2 separate regions of the Homo sapiens genome follow, and region 2 is linked to region 1. The links are contacts of gene promoters, found by promoter capture Hi-C in blood cells and fetal thymus (Javierre and others, 2016). All regions are on one chromosome and are shown on one strand. Each heading gives the region's core, a stretch centred on a gene start or on the middle of the fragment in contact. The rest is flanking DNA. Distances are from core to core; before and after follow the strand shown. Region 1 holds the start of ATP6V0E2-AS1 (ATP6V0E2 antisense RNA 1). Region 2 holds the start of LOC728743 (zinc finger domain-containing protein LOC728743).

Region 1 (6,709 bases), core at 1,131-3,630:
ACCAGGCCTGGCTAATTTTTGTATTTTTAGTAGAGACGGAGTTTCACTATGTTGGCCAGACTGGTCTCGAACTCCTGACCTCGTGATCCACCCACCTCAGCCTCCCAAAGTGCTGGGATTACAGGCGTGAGCCGCCACGTCTGGCCTCTCACCTAGTGGTTCTAAGATGGCTGCATTCCAGTCACCTGGGGGCATTCATGAACAACAGGAATTCCCAAGTGCAGATCTCGAGAGTTGTAATTTCATGGGTGTAGGGTGCAGCCTGAAAACTGTGTTTGAACAATCACTCCAGGTGACCCAGTCAGGCACAGACAGCACTGAGGTGGCCTGCCTCCTTCCTTGCCCAGGTGAGAAAACTACAGCCCATGGGGGCCAGAACTCTGGGGGCAGAGCCAGATCCAGAGCCCAGGGTTCATGACTTCTGGCCCACTGCTCTCTTTCCCATTCCACACCACCTCCACTCCTGTTGTTTTATAGGTTCAGCCTTTCAAGAGGCATTTACTACCAGGACAGAAGGAAGAGCAGGCTAGGGTGAGGAGGAAAGGAGGGAGGACAAAGGAACTGGCTGACTTTGAGCTGGGGAGAGTAGTACTTACAAGAGGTAACAGCAGACGGCGGTGGCGACCAGCATGGTGATGATCACTCTGCAGCAGAAGAGGACACGGGTCAGAACAAATGCAGCCAGCACCTCACAAGGCCTGGCCAGGACCAGAGCAAGAAGAGCTCCTGGTGTGAGCTCTTTTCCATTGGCCTTCCTGATGCCTCCTGGACACAGGAGGCTGAGTTCTACTCAGGGTAAGAATAGCAAGGCAGAAAATAAAAACTGAAAGTGTCACCTCACAGAGAGGCCAACCTTGACCACATCCAAGTTGCCTTAAGAATCCTTCCCTTCATTTCCCTTCTCTACCACCCAATATTGCTCCATCTTAATGCAGACGTGTTGTGGAAAGGCACTGCACAGAGCTGCATTTGTGGCAACCCAACAGGGAGTGGTCTGTAGAATTCAAAATTCATGGAGCAAGGGGAAGGAAAACAATAGGCTAGAAGACAGGGCAAGAAGCAGGCAGACTGTGAGCCAGTTCTGAGGCCCAGTGAGTTGTTACAAAGAGAACAGGGACTAGCCACTTTGCGTGTACTCAGAGAAGACCAGAGACAGATGCTTCAAGTGCAGCAAAAGAAATTTCAGTCAAACTGAAGCAAGAACTCACCAAGAATAGCAGGAGACGCAAGACACGAAAATGGTTTACAAAGTGAAGCTGTGGGATCCCAAACCCTGCCTGTCTTTAAGAACAAAGGCAGCACTCACATGTCCAAACGGCCTTTGGGCAAAGCTAACTCTAATCCAAACGAGGCCCTTGATCTTTGATCTAAAGCACTGCAAGCTGGTGCTGGACACAGGAGCACGCGATCCCTTTTTCAACATTACTAAGCAGGTTGTGCCAGTCCTGGCTGGGCACTGAGTAGACAATGGTGAACTGGACAAACTCCAGCCCCTGGGAACATGCAGTCAAGGGAAGGGTGCTTTGTAACTGAAGATAATATGAAGCAGAAACTGGTGAATGGCGCAGCAATCTGCTAGAGGACCTTCGAAAAATAACGCCAGCTAAACTTATCCCATACCTACAAAGTGTCACGCACTGGTAGGTGTTTTAAATGCGTTACCGCAGGTCATCCTCACAGCAGCCTTTTAAGGCAGGAGTCGACATTATCTCCATTTTACCCATGAAGAAACTGAGACTTGATATTGGCTCTAGGTCACACAGCTAGCAAGGAGTGGAGAAACTGCGTCAGTGCCCACTTGTGCCCTTTACTGGCTGCAGGAGGGGTGACAGACATCTCCAATGTCACTCTCCTCTTTACCTTCTGGATATGCCCTCTCGCCCCACCTCCTGCCTGTTCCCGGCTGTCAGAGACCCAGGTGCAGAGAGACCTCAGAGGTGGCGTCCGGGGTCCTGGCGTCCCTCCTGCGGACGCTCGCTGCAGAGCAGGAAGCCGCCGCCCCGGGGCGGAGGGGCGAGCCGGGCCAGGGGGCCGGGGTGGAGAGGTCTGCAGGGCCTGCGCGCTTTCCTTACCCGCGGTTGGGTCCCTTCGGCACGAACCAGGGCCCGGCGATGCCGACGAGGCCCCAGAACGTGGTGAAGATGATGACCGGGAGGGCGAATGAGTGCGCCGTCATGGCCGGGCGCAGGATGCCCAGGCAGGATGCAGGGCCGAGCAGCGGGCGCTGCAGGTGCGCGGGTCCCCAGCCGGGCAGCGCGCTGAGCATGCGCAACAGGAGTCGAGCACCCGAAGCGATCAGCCGGGCCGGGCCGCGCACGCGCATCTCCTGATCCAGCCCGCCGCGCTGTCACTCAGGACCTGCCTAGGAGCCCACTCGCTGATTGGCTGAGCAGGGCCGCGGACAGAGAGAAATGCCGAGGAATAGGGGCGCGGCCGCCCGGTTTCGGCGATGGGTTATAGGGTCCGCGTCAGCCCCGCGCCCGCACAGCCAACGTCACGCCGCATTCTTATTTCCAAAGACCCCTGGAGCTTGGGGTCCCACCCCAGCGGTCTTTCGGGGCGTCCCCTGCCCTTCACGCGCCGCGCCGGCTCGGCCCGAAGCGCCCTGCGGACCCGCAGCCTGGGCCGCCCCGAACCTGACGGCCCCGCGGGGGTCGGACGCGGGAGGAACGGCCTCGCTTTCAGAGACGCAGCGGGAGGGCGGTCCCCGCTGTCCCTCTGGCCGGGTCCTCAGCACGCGTTCTCCTCACTCCCAGGACTAGCGAGCGGCGGGCGCGGACCGGGGCCTGGGGTCGGAGGCGGCGCAGCCAGAAAGGCCCCAGCGGCGCTGAGACGTTTGGGGGAAGGCGGGGGCTTCGCGTTTCGATGGCGGGAAGCGGAATGAGGTTGGACCGGCCGGGCCGGCGTTCAGGGACCCGGCGGGAGGCGGAGGGCTGGCGTCCTCGCGGACATCCATCTGCAGCGAACCAGGCAGAGGCTTTGGGATTAGATCCTTGACTCCTTGCGTCAGTAGTTAAGGTTTGTTTAAATATAAAATGGGATGGCCCTTCTTACAAGGTTGCTGGAGGATTAAATGAATAGGCATGTGGAAAGCACCTAGTATAATAAGGCTCGGTAGTTTCTTCCATCAGGGCTGGAAGAGACCACGGAGCCTGCTTTCCTCCTTCGGCGTTTGGATCTCACATATCCCTTCTTCTCTGGCGATCAAAAATCCCTATCTTCTGTAGAGATCCCTTTTACAGATCAGTGGCCTCCAGGCGGTATCTCTAGCAACAAGTGCTACCCCAAGCGGCCGGCCACACATATTCCCTGGCTTCATGACATAGGGAGGCGCAGTCCCCACGTGATGCAGAAGGGAAATGTGCCTGTCCTTGCACTGACCCCGTCAGCCATGTGTGCTCCTGGCTGTTTTCTGAAATCAAGAACCAGTTACATCCGCCCTTCTCCGTTCTCTAGTTGAAACCTCCCTATCCATCCTTCCAACATTCATGTAAGTTGGAGGTGGGCGTGGGATGACACCAAACTGTTAGGTATAAAATACCATCCTAGCCTTCGAGGGGTTTCTAAAGTAGTTGAGGAGTGATATATTCTGGTAAAATCATAATGCTGGACAGCGCAGTTCTAAGAGCCCTGTGATCAAAGTAGCCAAATGCCCATTATGAGAATTCAGAGGGTGGAGAAATCCAGGAAGACTCCCTGGAGGAGGTGAGATTTTAGCTGGATTGTAAACAATGGTTATTTTTCTCATCCAGAGTGTGTACATTGTTGAGAACACTGGCCTAGGATAAGGGTGCACTTGGCATCCAGGAGATAGAGTTAAGAGTATGTCCATACAGGCCTTCAAAAAATCACCACGAGGGCTGAGCGCAGTGGCTCACACCTGTAATCCCAGCACTATGGGAGGCAGAGGCGGGCGGATCACGAGGTCAGGAGATCGAGACCATCCTGGCTAACACGGTGAAACCCCGTCTCTACTAAAAATATAAAAAAATTAGCTGGGCATGGTGGCGGGCACCTGTAGTCCTAGCTACTTTGGAGGCTGAAAGGAGAATGGCGTGAACCCGGGAGGCAGAGCTTGCACTTGCAGTGAGCCGAGATTGTGCCCCTGCACTCCAGCCTGGGGGACAGAGTGAGACTCCGTCTCAAAAAAAAAAAAAAAAAAAAAATCACCACGAAAGTTCTATAGCTCAAAAAAGACGGACTTTTTGAATTTTGTTCTGGAAAAAAAAAAATCCTCTGTAGAAAATGACAGCTGTAAAGTGAAATGTATTTCCTTCTTTGCCTCTGCTCCTTTGTCTTGGCTTTGGCCAGAACCAAAAACATTGCTGAGTCTGAGCAGCCACTCATATTAGCAGCCTGCAGCTCTTACTCTTTTCCTTTAATGTCTTTGATGTTTCATTTCTGTCCTAATTTGCATGTGATTGCCTGTGTCATTTGTTTGGCAGCTTTGTGATGGTCTGAGGTCCATGAAGGGATTAAAACCAGGAACTGGCTCCTTCTCCAACCACTAAAGCCTCATCTGGGCCCACAAGCCCTGGCTGTTCCCTGGAGCGTGACTGGAAGATGTGAGCAGCTTTGTGCTGGAGCCCCATTTCCATGGGTAAACTGTTCACCTGATCAAACAGCTCCCCAGAGTTCCACAGTACCACATATTTATTTTCTAGAACTTTGTTTTTAGCTGAAAGGGATCTTAGAGGCTAAGGCAATCCTATCACTTTACAGGTGATAAAACTGAGGCCCAGAGAAGTGAAGTAACTTGCCTAGGCCCACACAGCTCATCAGTAAAAGAGCCAGAACACATGGCCGAGACTTCTCCCTAATCCAGCGTCTCCTCCACACTCCCAGCTCACCCCTAGGGTTTGTGCCCAGGCTGAGGACACTATTTTCAGAGGCACTAATGTGAGGCAAAGGGCATGTTACCAGACACAGCCCCGCCTACCCCGGTCCCCTGAGGTGGAGCTGTGCATTCCACTGGCTTCACGGTTCCCCTCTGCCCTGGCGGCTTCTGGTTGGTATTGGCGCCACCGACTGCTCTGCCATGGCTCCTCAGTGAGTGCTTTGGGTGTGATTGACAAGTTTCCATGACATCTCCCAGGGAGTGGGGTCCTGATGTTGGTGACATCTCTATCGTTCATCTTTTCATGGGGCTGATGAATTCCTAGAAAGGGTAGAAGGAGAAGGAGCCACTGAAAGAGGCTCTTTAAAACTTCCCTGAGTGTCCCCCAGTGCAAATGAACAGGAGCCCCAGGACACTTGAAGGCCCTAGGAAATCACACCTCAGAGCCACAGATGCATCCTAATGCTCTCTGCAGACGGGGCACGTGTCGGAGGTGAGAACAACAGCTCCAGATGTCTCTGTCTTTGCAAATAAGGCCTGTGACATTTAATGATGTAACCACCTACCTTCCACCCATTGTTCTGGTGGCCATGAGTAGAAGGAATTATACCAGGATGTGATAAGAAGGAATTAGGAGCTGGGAGTCTTGCTGGGTGAGGACCTTGGCCCCTTGCTTGCTTGCCATCTAATAGGGGCACTCCTGGCCTGTGGGGTCAGGGAGAACTAGACCCAGAGCATGGTTGTCTCTGTGACTAGTTGAGCCTGTTTCTCCTTCAAGGGCCCTGGCAGTGGGAAAACATATTATGACAATTGCACTGTTTTATCAGCCCTTGGCACTCCTGAAGTTGCCCTGAAATAAACATCCCTACCTGTATGCCAGGCCCTGCCTACTTCTGGAGCTCTCTTAGGTTTACAACCTACCCCCGCTGTCCCAAATTGATAGGGTGAGCCCAGGGCATTAAATGGGTGGTGCAAGTCAGGCTTCAGGACTGACACGGGTCTATGTGCGCTCAGTGTGGGTTGAGGGGCACTGGGCTGTCTTTCTCCCTACAGTGCATGCTGCTGCCAAACCAGAGATCACTTGTAGACTTGAAAGGGAACATGAGCTTTGGGTGAAGGATTCCCAGCCCCCAACAGAGGCCAAAAAGCTACCACCCAGCCAGGTAAGCCTTGATGGAACATCTCTTGCACAAAGATCACCATGTTCATTGAGCCTTTAGTGCCTCCTGGGCTCTGATCAACCCACGAATCAGTATCTCCGCAGCACTTCCTGTGGTTTGGATTCAGGTTTTTTACTTCTGTTTCCTGCCTTTATGATAGGAGTTTGGGTAACCTGTGAGAAACACAGCCACAGTGTAAACCTCTTGAGACAAGCTACACTGATGGGACAATCAGGGTGAGGGCAATCCGGCGCCGTGGCTATGTCAGCTCATGTGTGCTCTTTCAGGAGGACATGTCTCACAGACACAGATCTTCAGCTCTGACATGCTCGATCTCACAAGCCCTTTTCTGAAACCTCCATCATGTGCTTTCTGATTCTCTACAGGCAGAAGGAACATAAAGTATGCATTTTATGATACGACTCAGCTTGGAGGGATGAAGTAGAAGGTCCTCACTGCACCTCATGGCAGGCTGCTGACGGCAGATATTTTACCGGGCTCACTGAACTGGGCAGTCAGGGAAGGGTCGGCTCCTGCTCTGTCCAGCTGTCTTCATAAGGGACTCTGTGACACTTTTTATAAAAATGACTTTGATTTCTGCATAAGAAGGCTTCCCAAGCTTGCTGTCTAGCAGTGGCTGCTACAGGGAATTATTCACATGGCAGCAAGAGAGCCCTGGCTCCCTGGACCAGGACATTCCCTTTGTGTGTGT
Region 2 (6,300 bases), core at 841-3,340, 530 kb before region 1:
ACCAGTCACCTCCACTGGTCACCGCAGTGCACCTCTTGAGGCAGGTCTTCTTACTGGATGTGTCCTCATGCCCGGGTGCAGTGCCAGCCAGGCCTCCATGGAACTCCATTCCTGGTCTCCGTGTCCAGATGGGTTCTGCACCTATCGGGTCTTAAGATCCTGCCCACTCTGCAACTGTCGACAGAAACAAAGAGATCAGGATCAGGTGTGGAGCCGTGACATGGCCCTGCCCAGCCACCCCTCTGGGGCTAGGAGGGAGCGATCAGCTGGCCTACCCTGAATCTGTCCTAGGGTTTGAATGAATCCTCTTTGTCCCCTACCAAGCACTGCAAGGATTACGAATCCCATTTACAGATGAGACACCTTGGGTTCAGGGCATTTTGGTGACTGACTCCAGGTGTCCGAAGCCCCTGTTTAATTTCATCTTTGCCACCAATGCTAGTCTACAGCACCTGGGAGTGGTAGGCAGAGGACAGTCTCCGAGGAGCCATAGCCACATAGCACTGAGGATGGGCAGAGGGGGCAGTGGGGAGGGACGAGTCTCCAGCACCCAGCACAGGACTGAATGTGCAGGTCCCCTCGAAGCCCCAGCTCCCTTCCTCCCAAACCACTCCCAGGGATGCCATGTCCCCTTCAAACACCCGTACCACCCCTAACACCCCTGCCCCAGCTCCTATCACATGGCCCCAAATCCTCCCTGCTCCATCGTCCACTTTTTAAGCAGTGAAGCTAAAAGGTTCTGGGATTCAGAATCCAAAACAAAGCCCTGGCTTCCACCTGTTGTACCCCTAAGTACCAACTGTGGTGTAGGCAAGCTTGGCAAACCTGTTTCCTCATCTGCCAAAAGGCTGAAGAGGCCCGTGCCTCAGAGCGCCAGCTTGGAACCAGAGGTCCTGGAGCAGAGTCCTGGCTGCCCCCTTTCTCACTGCCAGACCTTGGCCAGGCCTCTTAGCTGGGGGCCTTATGTTCTCTTGCCCAGATGACCCAAGCCCCTCGAGGCTCCAGCTCTTCCCACATCAGTCTGTCCTCACAGTGCCTCTGATTCTCCTCCTAAAGCATAAGTCTGAGATCATAGCACTCATCTCATTAAAAATCTCAGTGTCCCCACCCCCTGACCACGAAGTCCTTTGTAGGGCAAACCTCCCCTTGGGACACCTGGAGACAGTCACTGAACTATCAGGACCCCCCCTCCCTTGAAAACACCCTTCTACACACTTGCTCTTCCTAGAACAATTTTATTTGTCCCCATGACCTGGTTCAAAGCCATCAAACTCCCCTGGGTGACGAAGAGAAACCAGTCACCCTCCTCGGTCTCACCCCAGAGCACTTTGTAGGTTGGCCCCGCGTCACACACCGAGTGTGAGCACCCCGTGTCAGGGCCTGCGGTCCTCATGTGTGTCTCTGGGAGAGCCCAGCCCGGCACAGTCAGTGGCACATGGTGTGGCAGAATCAACTAAGGCTCTGTGCACCAGTGACCTCACCCTCTCTCATCCAGTAGCTGCAATATATCCCAGCGAGGAAGAGTCCCTCATCTATATCCCCAACTTACAGATGAGTAAACTGAAACATGAAGTGAAATGACATCTCAAGGACAGCAGAGAGTGTGTACAGGAGCCAGGAGGCCTAGGGGCTGAGGTTGGGCGTGGGGTTTGTGGAAAGTGGCCTCTCCAAGTCTCTTTCAACTCTGACATTCTGGGGATGAAGATCCGGTAAGCAGCTCATCACAGAGAAACCTACAGCCCGGTACCCAGACCGCCCCACCTGCCATCAAGAATCAACACCACGCACTCCACCCCCACCACTCCCAGCCCTGAGAGGGGCTCTGGCCAGCCCCGCAGGTCTCACCTGCTCTAGGCCGGATGGGCCAGAGAAGGAGAACCATGGCAGGAGCCGGAAGCAGCTGTGCGCAGCCAGCCAGAGGGTCCCGAGGGAGGAACGCGAGCGGGCGGCCGGAGCCTGGCGGCGGCCCACACCTTCAAGAGCCCAAGCCAGCGCTGCCCCTCTCCCGGGATCCCATCTAGAGAGGGAGCTGCGGCCCAGGGCCATCTCCAGGGGTCGGGGACGCACGTGCGGGGCGGGAAGCAGCCGTCGGCAGCAGGCCCCGGGCGCATCATAGCACGCGTCCTAAGTGGGCCGCCTGGCCCTCGGGCCCGTGGCCGTGGCTGCGCTGATGGGTCTTGAGCGAGCCCTCGCGCGCGAAGCTCTTGCCGCAGCGGGGGCAGAAGTAGGGCCGCCGCTCCCCGAAGACGCCGGGGCGGCGCGGGTGCGGCGCGGGCATGCGCGCGTGGGTGCGCTGGTGGTTGAGCAGGAAGCGCGGCTCGCGGAAGCAGCGGCCGCACTGCGCGCACTGGTGCGGCTTCTCGCCGCTGTGGATGCGCTGGTGCGTGAGCAGGTTCTGCTTGAGGCTGAAGCAGCGGCCGCACTCGGGGCAGGGGAAGGGCCGCTCCCCGGTGTGCGTGCGCTGGTGCACCTCGAGGTTGTGCTTGACGCTGAAGGCCTTGCCGCACTCGGGACACACGAAGGCAGCCGCGCGGCCCGCTCCGGCGTGCGCCTTCTGGTGCCGCACCAGGCTGGGCTGCTGCGAGAAGGTCTGGCCGCACAGCGGGCAGCGGTAGGGCTGCTCCTCTGCAGGGTGGTGGATGACCAGGCCTCGCTCGTCCCCCAGACCCTCCTCCCCGTCCCCCGCAGGGGACCCGCCCCCGGAGGACGCCAGCTCGGTCATGGGCACTTCCAGCTGCAATCACCAGTCCCTAGGGAGACAGAAGCGGGGGCGGGGGTGGGGGGTGGAGAGAGAGGGGTCGGGGAACACGAGGGTTAGCCAACCCCCAGCCTGGCAGGGACACTCACCTCCCACAACCTCCACCTTTCGCCCCGTTTTGTTCAAGCTCAAGTTCCCCTGCTGGGAATTGGTGTTCCTCTTCCTCCACTGCCTTTTAAGCACGGCCTACACTCCTTCCAGTCCCTTCCCAAGGGCACCTTCTCCTAGAAGCCTTCCCTGACCTTTCCACCCCGGGCTTAAACACCGTGTGACACAACCATGTGGCTCTCACTGATCATACTGCACGAGGGTCAGTCATGCCACCTCTGTCCCCCGACTCCCAGCACCCTAAGGACAGAGCTGCCTTCTTTCAACCCCAGCACCTAGCACCATGCCAGCCAGCCACACAAGACACTAGACAGATGGTGATGAGTTTCAGTTAGGATTTTCAGTTTCAGTTTCAGCTAGGATTTTCAGTTACCTTCGTCTAGATATGTCTTATCCCTCCAACCAGATCTCAAGGACAGGGGGAGGTAGGGAAGTGCACCCCAAACTTGGAGAAAAGGGTGGCATTATCAGTGATTTAAAGATATTTTTGTGAAGCTTAAAACAGGAAAAAAAACACAACCCTGTAAACTTGAAAGTGACCTCGGTTAAACATTAAAGGCGGCAGCTCTTTGTTTATCAAAATGAGGCATGTGTTCAAAAGGTTTCCAAGTCACTGAACCAGGGTGTGGGCTCCCAGGGGGACTGGTCTCAGCGTGATTCCTCTTGGTATCCTCACAGCAAAGCCTGGCCCAAGGCTGAGCAGCACCCTCAGTGCCCAGCCAACACCCCCAAACCCAGCTCCCTTCATGCTGCTTCTCCAAAGGATCCTCTTCCCAGGACACTGTGTTCCTCTTAAATTGTTTCCCATTGTCCTCACAACAGCCCTGAGAAAGGGGCGGAGCAGGGTTATTGAGCCCCACTTTAAAGATGGGGAAACTGAGGCTCAGTGAGGTCAACATACTTGCCAAGGTCACAGAGCAAGGTGAGCCTGGACTAGGCCTTAAGTCTCCTGTCTCACTGTTGAAAGCTCTTTTCAATGTACTAGCTGCTCAACAACTAAACACTCCTCAAAACACACACACACCCCCCACTGCCACCATCCCAGCCGTCACAGAGCCATGCATTCCAAAGGGCCACTTCTCCTGTAGATGCACTGTCTACTGCCACCACTCCCACGACCCCCACCAAAACTTGGGCTCCTGCAGGGCCCTAAGGCCTGCCTCATCCATTCTCCCCAACCCCATCAGGGAAGCCGGCTGAATATTCCACTGGACCTCCCCGAAGGCCTCTCTTCACTTCCAGCCTCAGTCAACCTATCTGCAGAGTGGGGTCTCAGGGCCACCTCCTCTGTCTTCCGTACCCTCGAGGCCGGGGTGGAACTGACCCTGGGGAAGGAGACAAGTCCTACTTGCAAGAGACCCCACCCACAAGTCTTTTCCACAGGCAGCTGCACTGACATCTGCAAAGACAGATCATCAAAGTCCCCTTGGCCAATCTCAGCCCGGCCCTGTGACTGGGCAGCCTCCTCACTCTCCCCAGCTATACCCCTGACTGAGGCCCCGCCTGCACGCCGAAAGGCCCCCCGTCTCTCCCCCAAGTTCTTTCCTCCCATGCCACACTCACAGCCCAGCTGAGCCCCTGCTCCTCCGGTCTCCGGCCGCAGCTCTTTGCTCTACAGTCTGCGCTGCTCAACGCAAATACGGTAACTCTCCCGCAGCGACACCCGCGCCCCTTCTCCCCGCCCCCATAAAGACGGCAAGCGTCCCGCGACGTTGCTCTTATCAAATAGCTGCATTAATCGGGAGAGCTGACCCCACCCCACCCGACCTTACACACAACCTTGCCAACTTCTGCGGCCGGAGCAACCCTGGAGAAATATGGTAAACTCTGCGTCGCAACCCCACCCCCACGAAAATACGTAGGCCTCCACCCTGCTGCCGCAACCCACCCCGCCCGACTGCAAGCCCCAGCTCCCAGAGGGAATGAATGCAGCCCACCCCCCACGGCCGCAGCGCCCCCCCGCGGAGCCACGCAACCCTGGATAAATACGTAATTAAGTCCCGGCGCTCCCACTCCCGGAAAGGACCTGCGCGGGACCCGGCAAATACGGTAGCACGCCCGCAGTGACCCGCCCCCGAGGGTCCGGCTCTGGCCTCGGTAAATACGGTAACCTCCCGCCGCGGCCCCAGCGCGGCCCCGCGCGCACTCACATGGCGCCGCCTCCCGAGCCTTCCGTCTCCGCTGCAGCGCCGCAGTCGCCGGCGTCGTCGCAGCCGCACAGCAGCCCCGTGAGGCTGGGAGGTCTAACTCTCCGGCAGCCCGGCTGGCGGAAAACGGGGCTGCCAGCGCTGCGCCCGCCCGGGCCGGAGCGGCGACCATGCGGGGGCCGGTTCCGGGGCCTGAACGTCCCACGGAGCGGGCCCTCTCAAGCCCCCCGATCCGCCGACCCAGACATTCCCCCTTTCGGGATTCCCTGAGGCCTGCATTCGGCCGTTATAGCACCATCCCTATTTTCCTAATCCCAAGGCCAGGCCCACAAACCGCCCCCAGCGACAGGAAAGAGGGTCGGACGGAGGCGCCGGCCTTTCCCCGGGTGACATGGGCTGAGCGCCGGAGCCCGGCGGCGGAGCGGCCCTGGGCGAGGGTTTCAGGACTGGAGACAATAGTCAAAGGGGCCGAATCGAGGAGCTGCCCTCGCTGACAGTTTCGCCAAAGTCTGCCTGACTATATGGCCTGGGTTATATCACTAGAGTGACCAGAGGGAAAGGAAGAAGACATCAGGCCCCTGCTGACCCCACCTCCTCAGAACGGAACCCGCAGTCAAGCCAGAGATATCCCATAAAAGAGCAACTTACGACGTCTGGAGTAGCAGCGGGCGTGAGAGGGCAGAACCAAATTACAGCTTCCAGCTGCCATTTAATGATAATGTCCCTTACTCGGACATAACTTTGCCTTTTACAAAGCCCTTTTCCATGTTATGATCTCGTGGGAACCTTCCAATAACCATGTGCACCCTACCTTGTGTGGGTTTTATCCCATTTTATAGACGGGAAAATAAAATTGAAACACAGAGTGGCTTCCTCCAACACTCACAGCTCTAAGTAGCAGAGCACAGACGGGAACACGGCACCGTGACCCAGCACCGTGGCCCAGCTTGTGTTCCACTGCACCGCCCTGGGACTGAGACCCTCAGACATAAATAGTGTGTGACGACAGGGAAGTAAAAACCTGGGCCCCAGTGAGAACGTGCCTGAGGGTGTACATTTGACAGACAAAAAAACAGAGGCCTGAGAGGAAAAGTTATTTTAAAAGTCACAAGTAGTAGAAGAACATTAAATAGGCTTTTTTCTCTGTGGCCTCTCTGTAGCTGCCAGGTGGAGAAACGCGACTCTCTCTCCAAGGCCCAGGCAGGGATCCTTGCAGCAGACAATGGATGTGGTGGTTGGGGTGGCGCTGTGCCTGATGGAGGGCATTGAGAGATGCGGGCCTCCCGA

What was found. Contacts are between HindIII fragments. The CHiCAGO score rates a contact against its expected background, and 5 or more counts as called.
Region 2: a fragment that was not itself captured here is called in contact with the fragment with the promoter of ATP6V0E2-AS1 in region 1 in 1 of 17 cell types (fetal thymus); the score reaches 5.5 in fetal thymus.

Annotation. Positions count from the first base shown.
Region 1 is chr7:149,869,533-149,876,241 of GRCh38, reverse strand. It overlaps ATP6V0E2-AS1 (ATP6V0E2 antisense RNA 1), which reads left to right and starts at 2,380. Exons shown (of 4, transcript NR_027040.1): 1 at 2,380-3,018; 2 at 4,446-4,600; 3 at 5,891-6,000; 4 at 6,384-6,709. It overlaps ATP6V0E2 (ATPase H+ transporting V0 subunit e2), which reads right to left and starts at 2,273. Exons shown (of 4, transcript NM_145230.4): 1 at 2,073-2,273; 2 at 597-644. The coding sequence starts at 2,176. RefSeq lists silencers at 1,837-2,016, 2,427-2,506, 2,537-2,746 and enhancers at 2,037-2,176, 1,506-2,474. The HindIII fragment of the contact is 7,156 bases long and covers 1-6,618 here.
Region 2 is chr7:150,404,034-150,410,333 of GRCh38, reverse strand. It overlaps LOC728743 (zinc finger domain-containing protein LOC728743), which reads right to left and starts at 4,658. Exons shown (of 3, transcript NM_001395976.1): 1 at 4,430-4,658; 2 at 1,846-2,750; 3 at 1-174. The coding sequence starts at 2,722. The coding sequence ends at 2,111. RefSeq lists enhancers at 3,336-3,385, 3,679-4,187 and a silencer at 4,896-5,355. The HindIII fragment of the contact is 2,546 bases long and covers 818-3,363 here.